Linked DNA regions of Homo sapiens: regions 1, 2 and 3 are each linked to region 4. The links are contacts of gene promoters, found by promoter capture Hi-C in blood cells and fetal thymus (Javierre and others, 2016). All regions are on one chromosome and are shown on one strand. The core of a region is centred on a gene start or on the middle of the fragment in contact, and the rest is flanking DNA. Distances in the headings are between cores, read along the strand shown. Region 1 has its middle 6.6 kb from the start of ADCK5. Region 2 holds the start of CPSF1 (cleavage and polyadenylation specific factor 1). Region 3 overlaps TMEM276-ZFTRAF1 (TMEM276-ZFTRAF1 readthrough). Region 4 holds the start of PUF60 (poly(U) binding splicing factor 60).

The links. Contacts are between HindIII fragments. The CHiCAGO score rates a contact against its expected background, and 5 or more counts as called.
Region 1: a contact is called between a fragment that was not itself captured here and the fragment with the promoter of PUF60 in region 4, in 1 of 17 cell types (monocytes). The highest score is 6.0, in monocytes.
Region 2: the fragment with the promoter of CPSF1 here is called in contact with the fragment with the promoter of PUF60 in region 4 in 8 of 17 cell types (M0 macrophages, erythroblasts, M1 macrophages and 5 more); the score reaches 14.0 in M0 macrophages.
Region 3: a fragment that was not itself captured here is called in contact with the fragment with the promoter of PUF60 in region 4 in 1 of 17 cell types (monocytes); the score reaches 6.2 in monocytes.

The regions. Positions count from the first base shown.
Region 1 is chr8:144,366,040-144,368,842 of GRCh38, forward strand. No RefSeq gene overlaps it. Among named protein-coding and RNA genes, the nearest start is that of ADCK5, 6.6 kb to the right of the region's middle. The HindIII fragment of the contact is 9,345 bases long and covers 1-2,803 here.
Region 2 is chr8:144,407,893-144,410,592 of GRCh38, forward strand. CPSF1 (cleavage and polyadenylation specific factor 1) reads right to left here and starts at 1,443. Exons shown (of 38, transcript NM_013291.3): 1 at 1,397-1,443; 2 at 1,123-1,280. The coding sequence starts at 1,266. RefSeq lists an enhancer at 930-979 and a silencer at 1,250-1,909. The HindIII fragment of the contact is 8,279 bases long and covers 1-1,830 here.
Region 3 is chr8:144,448,697-144,451,643 of GRCh38, forward strand. TMEM276-ZFTRAF1 (TMEM276-ZFTRAF1 readthrough) reads right to left here. Exons shown (of 5, transcript NM_001408018.1): 5 at 886-2,074. The coding sequence ends at 1,683. ZFTRAF1 (zinc finger TRAF-type containing 1) reads right to left here. Exons shown (of 4, transcript NM_001330618.2): 4 at 886-2,074. The coding sequence ends at 1,683. Among named protein-coding and RNA genes, the nearest start is that of TONSL, 5.7 kb to the left of the region's middle. The HindIII fragment of the contact is 1,444 bases long and covers 812-2,255 here.
Region 4 is chr8:143,827,832-143,830,721 of GRCh38, forward strand. PUF60 (poly(U) binding splicing factor 60) reads right to left here and starts at 1,484. Exons shown (of 12, transcript NM_078480.3): 1 at 1,449-1,484. The coding sequence starts at 1,472. LOC107986985 (a long non-coding RNA gene) reads left to right here and starts at 1,449. Exons shown (of 3, transcript XR_001746138.2): 1 at 1,449-1,573; 2 at 2,015-2,207; 3 at 2,878-2,890. It also overlaps a transcript of NRBP2 not described here. RefSeq lists a silencer at 1,202-1,771 and enhancers at 1,556-2,255, 1,576-2,775. The HindIII fragment of the contact is 7,973 bases long and covers 1-2,890 here.

The DNA.
Region 1 (2,803 bases), core at 91-2,590, 540 kb after region 4:
CCTATGATCATGTGACTTGCTTCACCTTGTCAATCACTTAGAAGATTCACCCTCCTTACCCTGCCCCCCTTGTCTTGTATGCAATAAATATCAGCGCGCCCAGCCATTCGGGGCCACTACCGGTCTCTGCGTCTTGATGGTAGTGGTCCCCCGGGCCCAGCTGTTTTCTCTTTATCTCTTTGTCTTGTGTCTTTATTTACTACAATCTCTCGTCTCTGCACATGGGGACAACACCCGCTTAGCCCCATAGGGCTGGACCCTACAGTGTCTTAGTTCGTTTTGTGCTGCTATAATGCCACAGACTGGGTAATTGATAATAAACTGGGATTTATTGGTTCTGGAGATTTGGAGGTCCAAGAGGGAGGGGCCACATCTCATGAGGACCTTCCTGCTGCCACATAACATGCCAGCAGGCATTATGTGGCTGGACGGAAAGGGGCCAAACTCATCCTTTTATAAGGAATCAATTCCCGAAATAATGGCATTAATCCCTTCATGAGGGTGAAGCCCTCAAGACCTAATCACCTCTTAAAGGTCCCACCTCTGGCGGGGTGTGGTGGTTCACGACTGTAATCCCAGCACTTTGGGAGGTGGAGGCGGGCGGATCACTAGGTCAGGAGTTCAAGACCAGCCTGACCAACATGGAGAAACCCCGTCTCTCTAAATATACAAAATTTGCCAGGCGTGGTGGCACATGCCTGTAATCCCAGCTATTCGGGAGGCTGAGGCGGGAGAATTGTTTGAACCTGGGAGGCAGAGGTTGCGACAAGCCAAGATCGCACCATTGCACTCCAGCCTGGGATGACAGAGCGAGATTCCATCTCAGAAAAAAATAAAAAGGTCCCACCTCCAATACTGCCACACTGGGGATCAGGTTTGCAATCCATGAACTCTGGGGGACACTTTCAAACCACAGCACATAGATTCAGTTAAGAGACTCTTCTCCTTTTACAGAAGACAATTGGATGAATTGGTTAGGTCACCAAGGCCTTGTCCAGGTTGTCATATGGAGAGTTCTGCTCTTTCACTGGGGATGACCAGCCGCTGCTGCGGACCTTGGGTTGCTGTTATGAAGGAGTGCCTGCAAATCCTCCTGAGGGTGCAGACCCCAGGCCTTGCAGGTGACCAGGAAGGTGATTTCCTGGCAGGCCCAGGAACATAGAAATTGACCCAAATTATAGGTATTGCGTTTCTTGCCTCTGCAAAGAAGCAAACAATACAGGTCCACTCTGATATTTCTTTCTTTTCTTTGAGACTGTTTCACTTTTGTCACCCAGGCTGGAGTCCAATGGTGTGATCTCAGATCACTGCAACCTCCGCCTCCTGGGTTCAAGCGATTCTTCTGCCTCAGCCTCCCGAGTAGCTGAAATTACAGGCGTCTGCCACCACCCCCAGCTAATTTTTGTTTTGTTTTGTTTTTTCGAGACCGAGTCTCACTCTGTCACTCAGGCTGGCACAGTGGTGCAATCTTGGCTCACTGCAACCTCCACCTTCCGGGTTCAAGTGATTCTCCTGCCTCAGCCATGAGTAGCTGGGACTACAGGCACGTGCTACCATGCCCACCTAATTTTTTTTTTTTTTTTTTTTTGTATTTTTAGTAGAGACGGGGTTTCACCGTGTTAGCCAAGATGGTCTCGATCTCTGGACCTCGTGATCCGCCCGCCTCAGCCTCCCAAAGTGCTGGGATTACAGGCGTGAGCCACCACGCCCGGCAATTTTTGTATTTTTAGTAGAGACAGAGTTTCACCATGTTGATCAGGCTGGTTGCGAATTCCCGACCTCAAGTGATCCACCTGCCTCAGCCTCCCAAAGTGCTGGGATTACAGGTGTGAGCCACGGCACCCAGCCCCAATCTGATATTTCTTATGAAAACTTCCAGCAAAGCAAACGTAAGGTGGCCTATATGGGATATTTGCACTGTTTCTGCACCTATGTAAATAATTGGACCACACTTGCTGACACCAGCTTCATTTTATGGCCCAGTGTGATTTATTTTTTATTTAATTTAATTTTATTTTATTTTGAGACAAGGTCTCACTTTTTTGCCCAGGCTGGAGTGCAATGGCTCAATCTCGGCTCACTGCAACCTCCACCTCCTGAGCTCAAGCAATTCTCCTGCCTCAGCCTCCCGAGTAGCTGGGATTACAGGCATGGGCCACCACGCCTGGCTAATTTTGTATTTTTAGTAGAGACAGGGTTTTTCCATGTTGGTTAGGCTGGTCTGGAACTCCCAACTTCAGGTGATCTGCCTGCCTCAGCCTCCCAAAGTGCTGGAATTACAGGCATGAGCCACTGTGGTCAGTTTTTTTTGTTTTGTTTTGTTTTTTTTGAGATAGAGTTTTGCTCTGTCGCCCAGGCTGGAGTGCAGTGGCGAGATCTCGGTTCTCTGCAACCTCTGCCTCCCGGGTTCAAGTGATTCTCTTGCCTCAGCCTCCCAAGTAGCTGGAACTACAAGCATGCGCCACCATGCCCAGTTAATTTTGTAATTTTAGTAGAGACGGGGTTTCGCCATGTTGGCCAGGCTGGTCTTGAACTCCTGACCTCAGGACCTGCCTGGGCCTCCCAAAGTGTTGGCATTACAGGCCTGAGCCACCACACCCAGCTAAATTAATTAGTTAAATGAACCTTTGACACACTGTCCTCATTTCCTAGGGCTGCCAGAACAAATTACCACAAAGTTAGTGACTTAAAATTGATGAACAATTTTATTCTCAGTCACTTTGCAAGCCAGGGACCTCCAGCCGACGATGCCCCACCTGGGCCTCGCTGGGCCACAATACCTGCTGCAGAGACAGCTCGCCCA
Region 2 (2,700 bases), core at 193-2,692, 580 kb after region 4:
CTCATTGTGAGGGAGGCTGCCATGTTGTGAGCTGCCCCAGGGAGGGGCCCATGTGGTGAGGAACTGCGGCCTCCTGCCAATAGTGTGTTAGGAGCAGAAACTCCAGCCCTCGTCAAGCCTTCAGAGGACAGGAGCCCTGGCCAGCAAATACATATGTATGCCGGGGTAGGTGCCCAGGAGGGTTGGCCTCCTTTGGCCTGAGCTTCTGACCCATCTGCCTGCTGGGTCAGCCCCTATTCACAACCCTCTTGTGGCTCCTCCCTGCTTTGTGGAGAATAGTCCTGACCACGGCCTACCTCCCTCCATCCCCACCACCACATCCAGTCTATACCACGGCCACACTGTGCATGTCTCTCCACCCTCAACTGCTTTGGGCCTGTGCACAGGCTGTTTCTTCTGCCTGGAACACCCTCCTCTCACCATCCCTGGGCCTGGGTAAGAGGTACTCCTCCCTTCAAGAGCAATGGAGAAACTGCCTCTTGCAAGTTGCTTTCCTGGACCAGCTTTCAACCCTCCGGCAACCAAAACACCACTGTATTTCCCAAACCCTTGAGGCGTGTGCCCCACTGTACCAAGACTCCTGTCAACAGTCTGTCCCCATCCTAGACCTGGCCTTGTTCCTTGTGCTACCAATGTCCTTCCCCCGACAAACTCCCGCTCTGCCTCAGACAGGCTCTTCTGATCATGCGACTGGAAATACACAGTCTCCTTCCTTCACTCCTTTATTCCCGCAGCAGCACTTGCTGCAGGGGCAGGTGTGTTTATTTAGATGTTCCCCTTCCCCAAGTGTCTGCAGGTGTGGTTCACATGGTATCTCTGCTACCCAGCGCACAGTGGGCGTTCGCTCCTTCCGAACAACTTGCTGAAAAAACGGAAGAGCAAACAAGACGGCTAGGGCAGCGCGCCCTTCCCGGTGGGGTAGGAAGGGAGGCAGAACAGGGTAGCAGCTGTGAGAAAGGATCTGAGCACAAGAGATTCAGGGTCATGTCCTGGCTCCTCAGGCTGAGGAACGTTAAGCAAATCACTCAACTTGTCTGGGGCTTGGCTCTTCCATCTGCAACCGGGGGCGGTGAGAGCACCCACGTCGCGGACAGCCGGGAGGGCTCCCAGGGCCCGACCTACCTCGGCGTCGCGGTTGAGGCGGTACACGTAGAGCTGCGAGGTCCCGGCCACTACCAGGTTGCGCTCGCTGTTGTTGAAGAAGTTGCAGTACATGGAGAACTCCAGACCGGTGGGCGGATGCGCCTGTTTGTACACGGCGTACATGGCGCCAACCCGGGCTGCGCAAGGCCGGGAGAGGAAGGGTGAGCGGGGTCGCCCACGCAGGAGCCCGGCCCCGCACCGCGCCCCTCCCCGGCCTCGCGCTGCCGCCTCGGCCGCCCGCCCGGCCGCCCACCTGGCAGTTGGAGCCGACTCGAGAGGAACCGGGACAGCAGCGAACTCAGTCCGGCCGGGCCCAGAAGCTGGGCGGGAAGGTTCCGGGCTTCTGCGCCTGCGCAGCGCCGCCGCGTGAGCGTGGCTGCAGGGGCGACAGCGGGCCCTAGTGGCCCGGGATGCGGGCGGCTGGCGGCTCGGCTCCGGGCTGGGCGTCCGGAACCCAAACCCCTAGCGCGCGAAGTGCGGGGCCTCCGCTGCGGGCGGAGCAGCGCGGGTTGGAAGCCGCAGGGGCGCCGGCTGCAGCGGCTCGGGGTCGGCCGGGGGGTGCGTCCGCGCCAGACCCAGGACGGCTGCAGGGAGAAGCGACTCCGCTCGTAGCTCCCGGGTTCAGGGGGCGCGCCGGAATCCAGAAGAGGGGGCGCGGCGCCTCGCCAGTGTCTGGGGCTCCGAGAAAGCTTCCTAGAGAGGCCGCACGCCCCCTCTGCCCAGTGTCCCCGCGCAGAGCGACCCCCGCCGCCAACACTCCCGCGGAGGACGCAGGACCCCGCGAGCCCAGCGCTGTCCGCCCGCCTTGCTCACTGCTGCCTACCCAGGGCGGGCCCAGTGCCAGCTTCCGGGAGCTTGGATCCTGGATCAGGCACGGGCCTAGGACCTAGAAACGGAATCATGAGAAATAAAACAAGAAAGTATCGTTACGCCCAAGAAAATGGCGTGGAAATATGTGTTTTTGTTGCATCCAAATCTACTTGCTCATTGGGCAGTGGGGGAAGGGCCACTTGGATGCTCAGGCGTGTGACCCCTGAGCCACACTCAACCGCCTTTTAAAAGTCAATAGGAGGCGGTGGCTCACGCCTGTAATCCCACTTTGGAAGGCCGAGGTGGGCGGATCACCTGAGGTCAGGAGTTCGAGACCAGCCTGGCCAACATGGTGAAACCCAGTCTCTACTAAAAATACAAAAACTGTGGGGGAAAGAGAGAGAGATCAGATTGTTACTGTGTCTATGTAGAAAAGGAAGACATAAGAAACTCCATTTTGATCTGTACTAAGAAAAATTGTTTTTGCTTTGAGATGCTGTTAACCTGTAACTTTAGCCCCAACCCTGTGCTCACAGAAACATGTGCTGTAATGAATCAAAGTTTAATGGATTTAGGGCTATGCAGGATGTGCCTTGTTAATATGTTTGTAGGCAGTATGCTTGGTAAAAGTTATCGCCATTCTTCATTCTCGATTAACCAGGGACACAATGCACTGCGGGAAGCCGCAGGGACCTCTGCCCAAGAAAGCCTGGGAATTGTCCAAGGTTTCCCCCCACTGAGACAGCC
Region 3 (2,947 bases), core at 284-2,783, 620 kb after region 4:
GGGGCTGGGTGGGGTCTTTCTTTGTGGTCAGCAGAAAACCAAACATGGGGCCTTCCCATGCCCTTGGTGGCCAGGCCACATCAGCTCTGCAGGAGATAAGGCTCCGGCAGCGAGGCACTCCCAGCAGGCCACACGCCCTGGCCTGGGAGTAGAAACCCACAGCATTCTCAGAAACAGCTCCAGAAAGTTTCAGCCCGTGAGGGGCAGTGCGGCGGCCCGGGAGGGAAGAGCTGACTGGGAGGGTCATGCTGGGCTGTGCCATGGTCAGCCGCCCGGATGATGGCGCTTACATTCTGCCCCCAGTTCCTCTCCATTTCTCAGCCCTCGACCCGTGACCAGCAAAGCACAGGACAATGTGGGCCAGGCCCCAGCAGCCAGTGGGGGCGGGTTGGGCTGCTGTGAGGCAAGTTAATGCACCTGACTGGAGCAGAGGAAACCAGTTCTTTGGTATTGAAGCAACAAAAAGCTATCACGGAAGAGCCACATCTCCTAAGCAAAGGTGGGGGCGTCAAGCTGTATCCTTCCCAGTAGCCCTGGGAGTCCCAGGGGAAGAAAGGACCAGGGATTACCCCTCCAGGCAGGGTTCCTTCCCATCCTGTTAGGCCAGCCCTGCTCAGCCACCACGGGGCACATCAGGGGGCGGCCAGGGTGAGGATGGGAAGGGCCCACCTCCTCCAGGTGAGAAGCTGGGCTGCCCAACCTCTGACCTCTGCAGCGAGCCCTGAATGCAGGGCCAGCAGCAGGACCCCGAGAGCAGCATGGGGGACACACCTCAGACTCTCACCCAGCCAGGCGCCCAAGCACTGACCCAAGCTTTCCACACAGCCTGGGGACGCTGGGCCCTCAAGGCTGAATCTACAGTAAATAGACTCTTTCTCACTAAAATTGTGTAACTTATCCAAGAGCCTGCAAGGAGTTTAATCTTTTTCCTGGGAAGAGACAATTTCACCCTGCTTTCGGAAAATGCCTGCTGAGCCCTGGTGGCTGAGTCCTGTCTCCCTGGGAGCGGCCGGTTGGCCAGGGCAGCCCCGACCCTACCTGGATCTTCCTGCCCAAGCCTCAGTCTCAAGACCCCATGACAGAGTGTAGGGGGAGGCAGTGTCTCTGAGTCTTTCCTCGGGGGACGTGTGCGGGCACACAGATGGGGGCGGGGCAGGCTCTGACCCCCAGGCCAAACCAAAGCCCCCACGCTGTCCATTCACAGCCATGCCTTCCCCTCGAACAAAACAGAAAGTACGAAACAAGGCTGCCTTTTAATTGCTATCAGATATTCGGATATCCCGTCTGATGTCAGCAAGGCCCCCGCGCCCCGCCGGAACCCGCAGGGATGGAGCAGCACCGCCGCCTGACTGCACAGAAGGGCTGGGGCAGGGTCGCTGTGCCTCTCGGCCTCCTTGCTGCCACCGTCTCTGAGCCTCGGGGCGCCTGGTGCACCGTCTCCTCTTCGGGTCAGCCCAGCCTCTGGCGGCCCTCGGAAGGAGGGGAGGCAGGGGTCGGGGGGGTGAGCCGGAGGCGGGGGCCCCGTCGCGCACGCATGCAGACTTGCCCTGTGTTGGCTTCGTTTGTTCTCCTCCTTTGCTAAAGTGATCAGATAGTCCTGTGAAGCAGCTGCCAGCCAGGTGGACAGGGCAGCGGTGCTGGGATGCCGCCCGTGGGCTCCTCGGACATCCTGAGGCCCCGCCCTACTTCTGTATCTGGAACAGGAAGAGCCGCAGGTTGATGTTCTTGGCAGCCAGCAGCTTGTTGCACTCCACGGAGTCAATGATGGGCAGTGGCACGTAGTCCGTCTCGTTGCTCTCGTTGGTGAAGACAAAGTGGTAGATGACGGGGCTGATCCTCACGTCGTCGTAGGGGCCCTTGAGCAGCAGGAAGGAGCACTCCAGCGGTGCCGTGACCTTGCTCTTGAGGAGGAGCTGGAAGGAGAGCGTACGCTTGCAGGACAGGTTGGGGTTACGCTCCGAGTCGTTGACTCGAGCCTTCAGGACCCACGTCTGGTTCAGCACTGTGAACCTGGGCGTCTCATAGTACAGGCGCGTGATGAAGTCGTCTGTGCGGTACGGCCGGAACTGGACCTCTGTGGAGACAGACAGGGCCGGAAAGAGCCGGCTGTTAGTGTGGGCAGGGCTGGGCAGCAACGCCTTCCCTGACCAGGCCGAGGGCAGGCTCAGCCGGGGAGGAAGGCAACTTACCCGGACACCGGGCTCTGCTTGTCACAAGCAAGCCAAACGCAACTATGGCAAATGGAGGTGCACACAAGCTTTGAGGGGAACAACCACAAACAGAATCAACATGGATTAGCTGGAGAGTCCAGAGGCTGCACGTGTCAGGCCACACCCCAGGCGTGCCCGACCCACGCTGGCCTCCCTCACCGCCCCGAGCCCCGGGTGTCCCCCAGGGCGGGGTAAGCAGACACACAGACAGGATGCGGTTCCGAGAACAAGTGCACTTTATTGGTTCTGATACAGAGGAGCTGCCAGAAAAGCCAGCAGGCGGCTGCGGCACCCAGCCCTGCCCGAGGGGAGCACCAGGTCTGCAGGCACCGGGCCTGATCCGGAGCTGCCAATCAGCAGGCAGCCCTGCCTGCACAGTCCTCTTGGGCAGCCCACAGCCTGTGGCCGGCAAGTCCCTCCGTGGAGGCGTGGGTTCCCAGGTGGCCAGTCTTTCCTGCGCGAATGGGGCTTCTCACCTGGCCACGGCCACAGCCACAGTGCCCCAGCCTGCCTAGACTCCACGAGGCCCCGGTATCTCCAGGACAGCTAAGGCTGCTACTCACCACGGGCTGTGGCTGCCGCAGAGACCCCAGGCCCTCGGCCTCTCTGGCCTGCTCGGGCCCACATCCCGCTGGGCACAGTCCAGGCAGCAGGGCGGGACTGGCTGCCCACGACCACCCTGCTTGCGCCACGCCTGGTGCTCTGAGCTGGCCGCCTGGTGTGGGCTGAGAGTAGAG
Region 4 (2,890 bases), core at 234-2,733:
GCCACAGCAGACCTGAGCCCCCATTTAACCCTCATGAGCACAGGGCGCTGTTCTGCGGGTGCTAGGGGAGTCAGGCATCCACTCTCCTCCTCCACCTTCCCATGTCCAGTCCTTGTCTCTGAGCCTCCTCCTCCTTCACCATCAACTCTCTGACTGCTGCCTGAAGACAGTCACCAGGTCCTCAACCCTTACATCCTTTCTCTCTGGAGTGCCCCTCAAAGGTCACTTACTCCTGTGGCTTCAAGAGAAAGGACATAGTAGAAAGAGTGGAGTTAGCCAGTCCTGTGAATCACACACTGGGCTGCCCTCGCAAGCTGGGTATCTTGTGTAAATGCCTCTCTCCCCCTAGTAACTGGTTTCTGCCTCAGTGGGACATGGGACCAGCCCGCCCGCTGGGGGCCTGGCAATGGCAGTCTAAGGACACTCCCTGGTCCTGCCAGTCCAGCCTTCAGCCATTTGCCCAAGCTGTCTTCTCAAACAGACCTTATCCCATCCCGCTGGGTGTGGGCTGGGGGAAGGGTGACAAGTAATACAGGGGTAAACTGCGGCTGAGAAAGGTCCAAAAGGGGATTAGGTCCTATAAGCTAAGTGGTGAGAAGGAAAGACCAGACTTCATCGTGCATGTGTTGTGTGCATGGGTGTTCTCCCTCTACGTTAATAACGCCTGCCCTGCCCGGGGAAGTGGGCACTGAGCAGAGCAGGGGGCGACTCACTCCTCTGGATGCCCACGCAGCTCCCTAGGGCGCCCAGCAAATGGCACCCTGGGTGGGAACTGGCTTCTGGTGCGCACTAGACCTCCAACTGCCTGTCTGGTTCCCCACTGCGTCCCCAGATCCTCCCGCAGAGCTGGGGACAATGCGATTTCTCAAAACACGTAGGATGAGAGCGCACGTCCTTCCTTTCCACGTGGAGACAAGAGAATGGAGATAACCAGATCCCTCTCCAGCACCGGAGAACGAATTCACAGCTGCAGGCGTAGTGAGCCAAGGCCGCCCCATGCTCTGAGCTGCAGGCCCCTTTCTACAGGTCCCGTCCCCTTCTGATCCCATCAACCCGAAGGCCCACGCGTCACCCCCAGAACCCCGCTTCCGTCGTGACCACGGCGCACACCCCCGTCGGCAAAGGGAGGACGACGACCCCCGCTTGCCGGACCTAGCGGACAGGAACGCAACCCCGCCAGGCTCGCCCGCAAGGGCCACACGCCGCGCCCAGGCCCCCGCCCCGCCCCGCCGGAAGCTGGGGTCCGCAGGCCGGAAGCTGAGGCCGCGAGCCGGCCGCCGGCGCGCGCCCGCCCCGCCCCCGCCTCACGCGACCCGGGGACACGAGGGAGTCCGCGCGGGACCTGGGAAGACCGCCGCGTTCTTGGGAGGCCCTCCGCGCCCAGGCTGGGTCGACGACCCGGCCCCGCAAGCCGAGGGCCGCCCGCGCTCATGGGGGGGCTCACTTACGAGAGCTATGGTCGCCGTCGCCATCTTGCGTCCGTCGCGGCCTCCGCGCGCGCCTCCCACTCTTGCTCCTTCCGCTGTCTCGCGCGATCTGGGTGCCGGTGCACGGAACTCTCGCGAGGAAGGAGGTAAGAACGCGCTTCCGGGGCGGGGAGGAACGGTAAACGCCCCCGGGAGGGGCGACGGAAGGGGCGTGCTCTTGGCCGGGCGAGGGGCGTGGCCCGCGCACCTCGGGCGTCTAGGGGCGTGCGCCGCGGGACTCGAGTCGGGCGTATCTCTCCGCGTGGCCGACGCGGGCGTGCGTAGTACCCTTCGCCGCCCGTCGCCCTTGCGGCCACTGCTACGCTTCTCTTCTCTGCCTTTTTTGGAGAAAACGCTGTCGCGTGCGTCGTCCAGAGGCTCTCCCCCAGGAGGCAGGCGAAAGAGCGGGGCCCTCCTGGGCTGGAGGAGTCTCGGGTGATGAAAGGCCCGCGTGTTTCAGGCTGACGTCGTGAGATGCGTCGTCCCCGCGTCGCGACATCCCTGGGACCGGGAGGCCCCGTTCAATTGGCAGCTTTTTCTCCTTCCAGGGAACCGATGACCCTAGGTTGGCTGACATCAGTCGCTAGACCCGCAGCCCGCAGGCCCCGTTAGTCCCTGAACTGGCTTTCATGGCCCAAGGTGTCTGTCAGTACTGCTGGGAAAGCTGCCTGTCCTGGACATTTGCCATCTGCTGCACCCAGTCCCGAGACCCCAACTCGGTCATCCGAAGAAGCCACATCTGTAAGCTCAGGCACCTTCAGCTGCCTAAGGCCACAAGGCATCCCGGGCAGGCCTCCTTTCAACCCTGGGAACATTTAGAATTTAATACAGACACTTCTACTTAAATAGGGCAGAATATTCCCCGCCTCCCTCCTGAAACCTTCCAAAATTATAGGAAAGGGGTTTTATAAAGACAAACCCTGCAAGGGCAAAGAGCTGGGATATTGCAGAGCTTAAGAAAGGTGGACAGCGAGAGCTACTCCAGCCCACTTGGCTATGGAGGCCAGTGTCTGAGGGTCGTGGGTGAAAGCACAGCTACAGAAAGGAAACCCCAGACCTCTGTCCCTACCCACCGGGGCTGGCAGGCACTGCAGTGTCTGAGACGTGAGCTCCAGGAGAGGAGCTCTGAGGCCCTGCTCAAGCAAGGCCCTGTCTGAAAGCCTGGGAGTAAGTGAGACTCTGGGTCCTACCCCTGCCTCCACCCCTGGGCTGGGTCTGACCACCCGCATGCCATCAGGCTTCTCAGAGAAGAGGGCTCCTCTCTGCAGCAGCTCCTAGCTCAAAAGAAAAGACTGGCAGGGCACCTAGGGGTAGAGTGTTGCCCAGTAGAATGGCCCAGCCAGATCCCTGGCCTCGAAGCTCACCAGGTCATAAGCCCCAGCCACTAAAAGCATCTCACTCTTCAATGCAGCTGGACAGCCCAG